4 separate regions of the Homo sapiens genome follow, and regions 2, 3 and 4 are each linked to region 1. The links are contacts of gene promoters, found by promoter capture Hi-C in human tissues and cell types (Jung and others, 2019). All regions are on one chromosome and are shown on one strand. Each heading gives the region's core, a stretch centred on a gene start or on the middle of the fragment in contact. The rest is flanking DNA. Distances are from core to core; before and after follow the strand shown.

Region 1 (2,700 bases), core at 75-2,574:
GTGAATGAATGAGAAATTCTCACGGCAGCGACTGCATTTCTGCACCTTCGACACACATTATCACGTGTTATTGTATCTTGTGCTGTTCCTTAGGGCATAACAATTGCTAGCATTTTCTAACTCAATCCTCACAACTCTAGGAGGGAGGTACTATTCACGTTCTTATTTGAGAAGTGAGGAACTTGAAGTTTAGAGGAGTTACAGTTCTTTCTCACGGTCACTCAGGTTGTAAGTGTTGGAGCGGGTTCAAGCCAAGTCCTCTGGCACCAGCGTCCCTAAGCCCACCCAGAGTCATACCATTCTGCCATTTTGTTTCTGGCTTTTCTTCATAGTTCAAAGTCAGCCAACTACCTGCCCTTAGCAAGCGTGGAGAGAACCCCCCGCACCACCTCAGCAAAGGGCTTGTGTGTGGAGGAGCTGCCACCCACGCTCCATTTCACCAAAGTGACAACTAATGCTAGGGAGGGCGAACCTCTCATCGGCGAGGTCGCCACTGTCACCAGCGCCCACTGCTGGGTCCAAGGCTGGCGACGCCTCACCGCATCTGGGCTTGACTTCCTGCGTCACTGGGGCGACCCCTGGTCCTGACTTCCACTCCACGCCTTCGTGGATCAGGACGACTGGGACCACTCAAAAGCGTATCCAAGTCCTGAGGTCTCCAAAGCGGTGGAGAGACCCGCCCAGCCCCTCACTCCCCGGCTGGGAACTGAGATTGTGGAGGGTGGGCGCCCTGCCGCGGCCCAGTGGGGCTGGGGGCTTCCAGAGTCGGGGTCCAGGGCTCGGTGTCCGAGACTCCACCGCCAGCCGCGCCGACCTGACCCACGGCCGGGTACAACAGAGAAGGCGGCGCTTCCCAAAGGCACCGATGGAGTGCAGGGTAGCCGCCGCCCTCAGGATTTATCAACCGCGAGGCGCTGTCAGCAACTCGTGCCCGGAAGCCACCCCGCCCCGGCACACACATACTCCAGCGCCCCCTCCAGGCGCACTCCGCAAACACGCGAGCGCGGCGACCGCCCCAGCCCTTTGTGACTGGATGAGTGGGGCCGAGCAGCACGCACTGTCTTCGACCTCCAATCAGGACTCGGGGTCTCGGAGCTGTACCAATCGGAGATGACCGTGGCCTCAACAGGGCCAATCGGGGGACTCGAGCCCGACAACAGGGCAAGCCGCCAACAGCGATCAATCAGAGGGGAGGAGCGGCTCCCAGATACCCAATCAGCGGCCTTCAGGCGCAGATCGTGGGCGGAGCGGTAGCCAGGCCGCGGGCCGGCCAATCAGCGGGCGAGCGGCTGCCTCAGCGCGCGCGGCGGGCGGGGCGGGGCCTGTCCGCGCCTAGGAGCAGTGGGCGCTGAGAGCAGCAAGGCCAGGTGAGGAGTAGGGACGACCCCGAGCCTGGAGAGGGGGCAGGAGTGGGGGCGCGCGAGGGTCGGGGCGGGGTCTCAGGATGCAGCCGGGCGGCCTCTCAGGGCTGCGGACGCGGCGGGGAGAGGTGAGGGGCCGGGTTCAGAGTTCGGGGAGGGCGTCCTTCCCGGCGCCGCGGCTGCGGGCGGAGGGGACACTGTTGCCATGGCAGCGCACGTGCGCTCGCTGGCGCGGCCCGGCACCCCTGCGCTCTTCACCCCGGAACGCGCGTGCCCCTTCAGCCAGGCCCCTGCCCGCCTGCGCCCCGCGGCCTCCGTCGCCGCCGGCTCTGGGCCGGGGCCTGCGCAGGGACCGCCTGCCTAGGCCGCTGCCTCTCCCTCGCACCCCGGGCTGCCTGGCTGTCTCTCCCTCCTGCTGTCTCCTCCAGGCGGCGCTGGGCACCGCAGGCCTCTGCGTTTTGACCACCCGCGCCGGTTCGCGGAATGGCCACATCCTGGCGACTGGCACCAGAGAGATGCAACCGTCTGAGGGCCTTGGGGTGTCTGTCCCCCAGGGAAATTTTTTTTTTTTTTTGGAGGTGGAGGGGGCGGGGTTCTCCCTCTGTTGCCCGGGCTGATCTCGAACTCGTGAGCTCCAGCGGTCTGCCCGCGGAGGCCTCCCTAAGTACTGGGATCACAGGCGGGAGCCCCAAGGGATCTTTTTAAATGTCTTACTGCATTAACAAGTGCCTAAGGAGTGCTCAGAGAATAGCTCTGATTGGATGAATAAAGACCCCCAAGGGCAGCTTTCCATTCCTCCCACCAATTCTGGTGGGCAGAAATAGAAAGCAAACCACATATGTAATTGTACATGTTCTGGTAACCACTTTAAAATAATAAAACAGGTTAAATTAATTTTAATATATTTGATTTAACCCAGGATATCCAAAATGTTATTACAACATATAATCAATATTAAATTATTGGTAAGATATTTGAAATTTTTTTTTTCATGCAAAGCCTTTCAGATTTGTCGTGTGTCTTACACTTAACAGCACACCTCAGTCCGCACCAGCCACCTTTCAAGTGCTCGCTGGTCCCATAGTGGCTATCGTATTAAGCTGCGCATTTCTTGTGTATGTGTGAGCTGTTGCCAAAACATGACATCAAATTCAGTGTTCTTGGAAGCCCTCTTCAAAGAACACTGATTGTGTTGCAGTCAGGCAACGCAAAACATGAGGCACGGCCCTTTTCTTCAAGGAGTTTGCGGTTCGGTTGAGAAAATAGACACCCACAGATAAGTAGTATTTTAAATGGATGCAATTTGGGCGATAGTAAAGATAACTGGGAGTATATGATT
Region 2 (2,968 bases), core at 400-2,899, 310 kb after region 1:
TTGACCTGGTTCAAGTGATCTGCCTTCCTCAGCCTCCCAAACAGCGGGGATTATAGGTGTGAGCCACCGCGCCCAGCCTCACTTAAAAAAAATTTATCCTGGGGCACATACTTCAAAAAGCTGTGACAAACACACTTCCTGGTCCATGAATTATATAACCTAAAGGGGCAGCAGGCTGCTGTTACCTGTGACTGGGATTTCACCTTCCTCCCACTCTCCTCATCAATCTAACTTTGCTTCCTGCTTTCCTAGAACCTAAAGCAGCTCTGGCACTCCCCTTTCCTTCATCCGCAAATCACCCAAAGTCTGGAAGCCCCACAGTGAGTATTTAAACTTTTTTTTTTTTTTTGAGACAAAGTCTCGCTGTGTCACCCAGGCTGGAGGGCAGTGGCGCAAGCTTGGCTCACTGCAACCTCCACCTCCTGGGTTCAGGTTCAAGCAATTATCCTGCCTCAGCCTCCTGAGTAGCTGGGACTACAGGCGCGCACCATCACGCCCAGCTAATTTTTGTATTTTTAGTAGAGACGGGGTTTCACCAGGTTGGCCAGGATGGTCTTGATCTCTTGACCTTGTGATCCACCCACCTCGGCCTCCCAAAGTGTTGGGATTACAGGCATGAGCCACTGCGCCCGGCTGAGTATTTAAGCCTTTAAGATCAATGTTCTGAACACTACACAGATACCACAGTAAAAGGTTATATAATGTTAGAATCATTTAGGAATACTTTATTCCCAGTACTGAAACATATAAAATATAATTAGATATTCTTAATAAAATCTGAGGAACATTACATTGAGAACTCCTAGTTTGAGAAAGTAATAAGGATTTCCACTATTTTGGAAGAGGGCGCTTTTCGATTATGATAGGACATGTCATTTAGCAGAAATTTCATCTTTAAAACACAGAGAGGGAGCCTTTTCTGTCAACATGGCCAATAACCAAATCTTCATCCATAACAGACATTAAGAAGATGAAAACCAGCACAAACTAACACATCTGTTGATGTCACAGATCCCACAGTCTGGCTGTAGGAGGCGCATCTCACAAACAGAAGAGGAATATTCTCTAGCAAACATGTACAGAAATGTTTAACAGAATGCTACTAGCTCATCAGTGCTGAAATGGGTGCAAACAAGAATACCATACATAAGCTTATTCATTTTCCTATTCAAGGTCTAAAAGAAAAGAATTAGGCCAGGTGCAGTAGGGCTCACACCTGTAATCCCAGCACTTTGGGAAGCTGAGGCAGGAGGATTACTTGAGGCCAGGAGTTTGATACCAGCCTGGGCAATATAGAGACCCCATCTCTACAAAAAATAAAAAATTAGCTGGGTGTGGTGGCACACACCTGTGGTTCCGGCTACTCAGGGGGCTGAGGTGGGAGGATTGCTTGGGCCCATGAGGTCAAGGCTGCAGTGGGCTATGATTGCACCACTGCATTCCAGCCTGGGCAATAAAGAAAAAAAAAAAAAAAAAGGCCGGGCATGGTGGCTCATGCCTGTAATCCCAGCACTTTGGGAGGCCAAGGTGGGGCGGATCATGAGGTCAGGAGACTGAGACCATCCTGGCTAATATGGTGAAACCCCTGTCTCTACTAAAAATACAAAAAATTAGCTGGGCGAGGAGGAGGGCGCCTGTAGTCCCAGCTACTCGGGAGGCTGAGGCAGGAGAATGGCATGAACCCAGGAGGCGGAGCTTGCAGTGAGCCAAGATAGCGCCACTGCACTCCAGCCTGGGCAACAGAGCGAGCCTCTGTCTCAAAAATAAAATAAAATAAAAAATAATTTTTAACCCCCCCCCCCACAAAAAACCTCTGAACCTTTATACAAAAGAACAAAAGCGGCCAGGCGCAGTGGCTCACGCCTGTAATCCCAGCACTTTGGGAGGTCGAGGCAGGCGGATCACAAGGTCAGGAGTTCGAGACCAGCCTGGCCAACATAGTGAAAACCTGTGGTGTGCTCCTGTAATCCCAGCTACTAAGGAGGCTGAGGCAGGAGAATCGCTTGAACCTGGGAGGCGGAGGTTGCAGTTTTCCAAGATAGCGCGATTGCACTCCATCCTGGGTGAGAGAGTGAGACTCTATCTCAAAAAAAAAAAAAAAAAAAAAAAACATAAAAAATAACAACAAAATCCATGAGAATGACAAGGAAAGGAGTAATTCAGCAAAGAAAATCATCATTGGCTTCGGTATCTAAAAAAACAAAGCATGGCTTCTAGTCTCTGGATAAACTGGTCTGATATTTCCAGGGGTCTGTACTCTGTGCTGTGAACGGCTTTAGAGCTCCGCTGGGCATTGCTGATGTGTGGACTGTCCCGCTCACTGGGTGCCAGGCATGGCCCCAGGTGCTCCACACCCTCTCCTGACCCCTGCACAACCCTGTAGGCCTGTGGGATTAGATCAGGTTCTGAGGCTCAGAGAGGCTAAGCTATAGTGGCAACACAGCTGCGTAAATGGCAGAGTGGGGATTTAATTTTTTTTTCTAACTTGAAAGTCTGTTGCCTTTGTACTCTACATATCTCTTGGGTATTTAATTAAGACAAGTAAATGCATTTACCACTCTTTTTACTATTCTATAATGACCATGAGTAACGCATTTTACTATCAGCCAACAACTCCAGCACCTATTCCATAATGACCATGAGTAATGCTTTTTACTGTCAGCCAACAATACCAGCACCAAATAAACTGATACTGTTAGAATACAATGCACTTTGCCCCTGGAGTATGCTTCCAAGGGATCCTTACCTGGTGCTCCTGTGTACATGATGGAAAAGACATTGATTGCTATGGTAGCAGCATAGAATACTGGGAGTGCCCGGAGGCCATTGGGAACAGGGTCTTCCTGTAGGAAGACAAGGAGACAGAGTGGAAGGTCAGGATCCCAGCAGCATTTGGAGCCAACACAGACAAAATGATACAAAATACTGTTACAAGAAACTCTTCCCAAACCCCAGTGTGGCCAAAAGG
Region 3 (2,770 bases), core at 147-2,646, 260 kb before region 1:
TTCCCACTGGAACCGGAGGCCACAGGCTTTGCCCTAAGCTCTCCATCCTCTGCCTGAGGTTACTTCCAACTCTGGCAGCTTTCCCACTAATTTATAAGTCCTTCACTTCAAAGAAGGAAAACTATCTTCAGTTTTTAAATTTTTTGTGGAGACTGGGTCTCACCATGTTGCCCAGGTTGGTCTTGAACTCCTAGCCTTAAGTGATCCTCCCATCTCGGCTCCCAAAGTGGTGGGATTACTGGCATGAGTCACTGTGCCCAGACAGGGAAGGAAAGATAGCTTCAGCTTTGACTCTTCTCTCAGTGCCTAGCATAGCTTTGAATATCCTAAGGGCACAACCAATACCTGGGGGAAGTAGCCTAGTGCTGTGGGCTGTTAATAAGCTTTGGAGTCAGGTGCATCTGGGTTGGAGCCCAGTTCTGGGGTTATCAACCTATTGGGCGACAGAGTGTGACAATGCATGTCATGCACGAGGAACACTGGAGACCCTCATAAGTGCAGGCACCTCCCTTGATAAAGAAAGAAGTTTTTTTGCAAATATCATTGTCAATGCTCGCCAATGGATGCAAAAGCAATTGGACATGTACTATTTCCTTGGTAAAAACACAGGGAAATCTTTGAGAAGAAGAGTCCAGTCACATTGGAAGCAAATGAGAAGGAAAGAATGGTGCTCTCTTTTTTTAATTGGCTGGCCATTACATCTTTGCTTTCACTTTGAGTGTCTCCAATGCAAGTTTTCCTTTCTTGGAGAATGTGCTGTGCTTTGTGCACCCAAGATCCAGAGAGTCTCCGCCAGAGGAATCCGGTCTCCCCACAACACCACACATTCCATTATCTGTGACAGTTCACACCCAGATTTACTACCTGTGGATCTAACAGCCATAGGAGTCTCAGCAAAGTTAGGAAGCCCTTTTATGTTCCCCTCTGATATACAGCACTGGTGCCACACAAGACTTCAATAAAGCTTGCAAGTATCTAAGCCCACCTGGAAGTTATTGACGAACCCATGCAGATTACTGCGCAGGTCTGCAATAAAAATCCTGTCCAAATAGAAAATTCATTTTTTTTCCTGAAAATGAAATGAAGATATGATTTAAAGTATCCTTTTCTCATTTCCCAGTACTGAAAGAATAACAAGCTGGCCTTCCCCGGCAAACCTCAAGACTTCACAATACCATTGGAAGGCCAGGAATGAACTTTGGTAAAGGATTTATTAGAAAGAATAACTTTATGAACAATCATTATTTTATTAGCTATACTCCATTAAATATATGGGAGTTTTAAAATTTACAAAGCACATTCTCATTTATTATCTCATTTGATCTTCATCCCTATTTTACAGATGAGAAAACTGAGGCTGGAGGAAATTCAGAGGCTTGTTCATGCACACGTAGCTGATACATGCAAGAGCTCAAACTGGAACCTGGGCAGCCGACTCCATGCCAGTGTTCTGTAGGAGGTGGAGTTTTGAGCTTCTCAAGAACCAGAAATGGAGATAGAGAGCCAGGCAAAGTTGATCTGCCTTTCTCAAAAAAACAAACACTGGCTGGGTGGGGGCACAATGGCTCAAGCCTGTAATCCCAGCACTTTGGGAGGCCGAGGCAGGCGGATCACTTGAGGTCAGGAGTTCGAGACCAGCCTGGCCAACATGGTGAAATGCCGTCTCTACTAAAAACACAAAAATTAGCCAGGCATGGTGACACGCGCCTGTAGTCCCAGCTACTCTGGAGGCTGAGGCAGGAGAATCACCTGAACCCAGGAGGCGGAGGTTGCAGTGAGCTGAGGTTGTAGCACTATACTCCAGCCTGGGTGACAGAGCGAGACTCCGTCTCAAAAAAAAAAAAAAAAAGAAAAAAGAAAAAAAGAAAAGAAGAAAAAAACAGTGACAATAGATTTTATTTCAGTCAGAAGAATTCAAGGTGGGGGAAACAATAGATTTACTTGGTACCAATTCTTTAGGGCCAACTCTCTCAAAATCAAAAAGAACAACTAAGAAAAAAAACCTGTACTAGTTAAATGTAGCTTTTCAACCAATTCAAGCCATAGATATCTAGTGAATGGTTATGTACAAAGGCTCAAGTGTTGGCTTCAAAGTGCTTACAATTTAGTAGAAGAGATAAAACAAGAACTTCTGCATGTGCATGTGTGTATGCGTGGAAGGTGCAGAGAGAGCAATGGGGTGGGGGTAAGGAGGGGACAGATATGAAAGGTTTCTTGCAGGCGACAGTGTTGGGCTTTGACATTGAAGGAGGAAGGAATCAATAACAGGATCACCTATTCAAAGGTGTTGCCAAAGCAGACACAGGGGCAAGCTAACACCGATGAAGAGCGCCTGTACATAGGACACACTCGCCACTACGTGCTCATTTTTATTGTGAAAATAGGGAAGAAACCTCAGATGAGTTTGTTTTTTTTTTTTAAGTGTTGCCACATTGAGAGGAGAGGAGCAGAACTGGTGAGCCAGCAGCCTTTGCTGGGGTGAGCAAAAGAAACGGGGAGACACTGGAGGCCAGCTCGTGTCCCCTGCCCAGGGAGGTGACTTGCTCCAGGCTCTGAATTTCAGCTGCTGCTGCACCTGCTCTGAGACAGTCCAGCACTAGATGGTTTGCACATCACTTGCTCCTCACAGTCACCCTTCACAGAGGTGGAGCAGCAGCCAAAATTCAGAGTGTAACATCTTCTCAGCCCTCAAGACCCTGCTCTCCTGGTCTAGCCTATGGCTGGGAAGTGAGGAGAGATCCTGGGAACAGCCCCCACCACTGCTACCTCT
Region 4 (2,700 bases), core at 67-2,566, 340 kb before region 1:
CTTTTTTTTCTTATTTAGAGATAAGGTCTTGCTCTGTCACCCAGGCTGGAGTGCAGTGGTGCAATCATAGCTCACTACAACCTCGAACTTCTGGGCTCAAGGGATCCTCCCACCTCAGCCTCCCAAGTAGCTGGGATGCACCACCCCACCCAGCTAATTTTTTATTTTTTGTAGACACAGGGTTCTTGCTATGTTGCCCAGGCTGGTCTTGCCCTTCTGACCTCAAGCAGTCCTCCCACCTAAGCGTCCCAAAGTGTTGGGATTACAGGCATGAGCCACCAGGTCTGGCCAATAATATTCTTATTTACCAAATTTTATCGGTTACATGAAGTTGAAAAGCACTTTGGTTAATTTCTCTTTTTCTGAGAGAACAATTTTTATAAACACTTATTTTTCTTTAAGCCAATTAAATAGACCTTATCCAGAGATAGAAAATATCACATTACATGACATACATACATACTTAGACATACATAACCATATAGATAGAAACAGATCTTACTAAATTTTAACCATGTGCCAGATACAATAATTCAAAACTCACTTATAAGAGAATAGCTGGATCTGGCAAATGGGACCAGTGAAGTTTCCCTGCTCAGGTGGCTCATGCTTTTGTACTCAAGACTTGTCATTTGCCAGTTTCCAAATAGTTTCTTTTTTTTTTTTCTTTTTAACCTGAGAATCATCTCCCTGAAGTTTGCACTTCAAGAAGGATCTTGATAAGATCTTAGATAAGACAGGTTAGAAAATTTACATCTCAAAAGCACAGAGAAAGAATTCAAGTTTTCAACAGGAAGGAGTTTTGGGGGGCACATTTGCCTATTATCAGAAGTCTAGGATAAATCTATTAAAACTTTTCCTTCTTTTTCTTAAATGCAAGACACTTTTGTTTCCAGTGTTCTGATTTGCTGAAGTTTTTGCAAACATCTTGAGATGAACAGGTGAGGTTTGGGTACTGGTAAGAAGGCTAGGTGGGCTTTGAATTGCTTCCAGAGGCACATTCCTGCTGTGATAAAGCCTCAATGTGTAAGACGAGGACAGTTGTTTTTAATTCCCCTAAGAACTGGGTTGCAGCCTGAATGTCAAGGTGCTGACCCATCCATCCGATCTTCAGTTTGCTCCTTTATATCAAGAAGCAGATTTCCAACTAGGATGGAAACCAAAATATTCCTCTGTTCTAGAGTTAGAGCTATTTGTCTAGAAAAGTTTTAATAAACTGTTTTCTTTCTTTCTGAGTACACAGTTCCATTTTAGCTTAGGAGGGAAGAGCTAAAGGAAAAAATTCCTATCATGCTTTATATAAACCAAAGCTCTAAACCGAAGATATACCTAACAAGTGACTCAAGACCAAAACAAACATGCTTTTCACCACTGAACCATGAATGCATGAGGCATCTCCAAAGAGAGACAAAAAAGATGCAGCCCTTTCACAATCCAGGGCCACTCCCAAAGACAGCCACGGAGAGAAACCCTGAGACGATGCTCCTGAGAAGTGGCAAGAGTTGGTGTGCCAGCTGCCAATGGGCTGCACCCATGTTTCTGTCCGGCCACATTCTTGGAGATTTCCAACCTTTTGGATGGCCACCTGCACATACAGGCCCAATAACCCACGTGCCCCCGCTGGCTGCAAAGTCAAACAAAGTTCTTGGGGAAGAAAAAATAAAAGAAGACGTATAGGAAAGCAATAACTATCCACGGGAGGGAAAGGGTTAATAACTAATGGGTACCCCAACACCAAGACTCAATTCAAACCCATTCCTACAAATGTTTCCCGCCTGAGCTAATGGAATTTACTGAGAAAATGGAGATTTGGAGGAGTAAAGTTTTAAATCAGGGGCCCAGAGCTCCAGAGTTCTTCCAGAGGGTCAGGACCAGGGAGTTGTGGATATAAGAGAGCACAGAAGAGGAATTTAGGCCAAATTTAAACAATTTTAACTTGGTTCTAAACTTGATTTCTGCTTTTAATCTTGCTAAAGGGGCCCTAAAGCTAATCATTAAATCCATTATGTCTTCTTTTCAGTTGGATTATACCATAGGTATCAGTAATACAGTTGTTTAGGATGTGAGCTCTCTAAAAATTTTTTCAAATATAGCCAATTTATTTATCCCAGAGGTAGTGACTCAAACCAATAAGTCTTTCTTTCTTTCTTTCTTTCTTTCCTTCTCTTTCCCTTTCTTTCTCTCTCTCTTTTTCTTTCTTCTTTCTTTCTTTCTTTCCTTCTTTCTTCTTTTTCCTTTCTCACTATATTGCCCAGGCTGGTCTTGAACTCGTGGGTTTCAGCAATCCTCCTGCCTCTGCCTCCCTAAATGCTAGTGAGAGAGGAGAATGGAAAAAACCTGGTCAGGCAGGCAATTAAAGTGTGTCCTTGGTTGAATTCTTTCAAACAAAAGAACAGTCCACAGGCACAGATAAGGGATTGTGCACAGCGGGGCTTGCCTAAGACACGCCCACAGCTGCACAGATAAGAAAGCCTACACAGGTAACTTGCCCAGACATGCCGGCAATGGAAAATTCTGTTCCCTAACATATGCACAGTAAAGGTAACAAAGCAATATGGAGTAACTCAAGCTAAGGGCCCGCATGCACACTAGAAGGACAGGGTAGATCTACCAGCCTCATTGATGCCCAGACCTCACTGGTTTCTCATAAATAAGCCTTTGCATTCAACTGTAAAAACAGCAACCCTCTTCTGGGTCCCC

The links. The method cuts DNA at HindIII sites, captures the fragments that hold promoters and counts their contacts. A contact is called where the count stands out against the background at its distance.
Region 2: a contact is called between a fragment that was not itself captured here and the fragment with the promoter of AP3M2 in region 1, in 1 of the 25 tissues and cell types used here (H1 embryonic stem cells).
Region 3: a contact is called between a fragment that was not itself captured here and the fragment with the promoter of AP3M2 in region 1, in 4 of the 25 tissues and cell types used here (dorsolateral prefrontal cortex, heart right ventricle, mesendoderm cells and 1 more).
Region 4: a contact is called between a fragment that was not itself captured here and the fragment with the promoter of AP3M2 in region 1, in 1 of the 25 tissues and cell types used here (neural progenitor cells).

The regions. Positions count from the first base shown.
Region 1 is chr8:42,151,739-42,154,438 of GRCh38, forward strand. It overlaps AP3M2 (adaptor related protein complex 3 subunit mu 2), which reads left to right and starts at 1,325. Exons shown (of 9, transcript NM_006803.4): 1 at 1,325-1,367. RefSeq lists an enhancer at 281-400 and a silencer at 1,231-1,840. The HindIII fragment of the contact is 9,480 bases long and covers 1-2,700 here.
Region 2 is chr8:42,457,150-42,460,117 of GRCh38, forward strand. SLC20A2 (solute carrier family 20 member 2) reads right to left here. Exons shown (of 11, transcript NM_001257180.2): 5 at 2,747-2,843. Among named protein-coding and RNA genes, the nearest start is that of SLC20A2, 43 kb to the right of the region's middle. The HindIII fragment of the contact is 6,800 bases long and covers 1-2,968 here.
Region 3 is chr8:41,888,877-41,891,646 of GRCh38, forward strand. It overlaps a transcript of ANK1 not described here. Among named protein-coding and RNA genes, the nearest start is that of ANK1, 93 kb to the left of the region's middle. The HindIII fragment of the contact is 3,254 bases long and covers 1-2,770 here.
Region 4 is chr8:41,816,440-41,819,139 of GRCh38, forward strand. It overlaps a transcript of ANK1 not described here. Among named protein-coding and RNA genes, the nearest start is that of ANK1, 20 kb to the left of the region's middle. RefSeq lists enhancers at 1,933-2,700, 2,239-2,700. The HindIII fragment of the contact is 8,264 bases long and covers 1-2,700 here.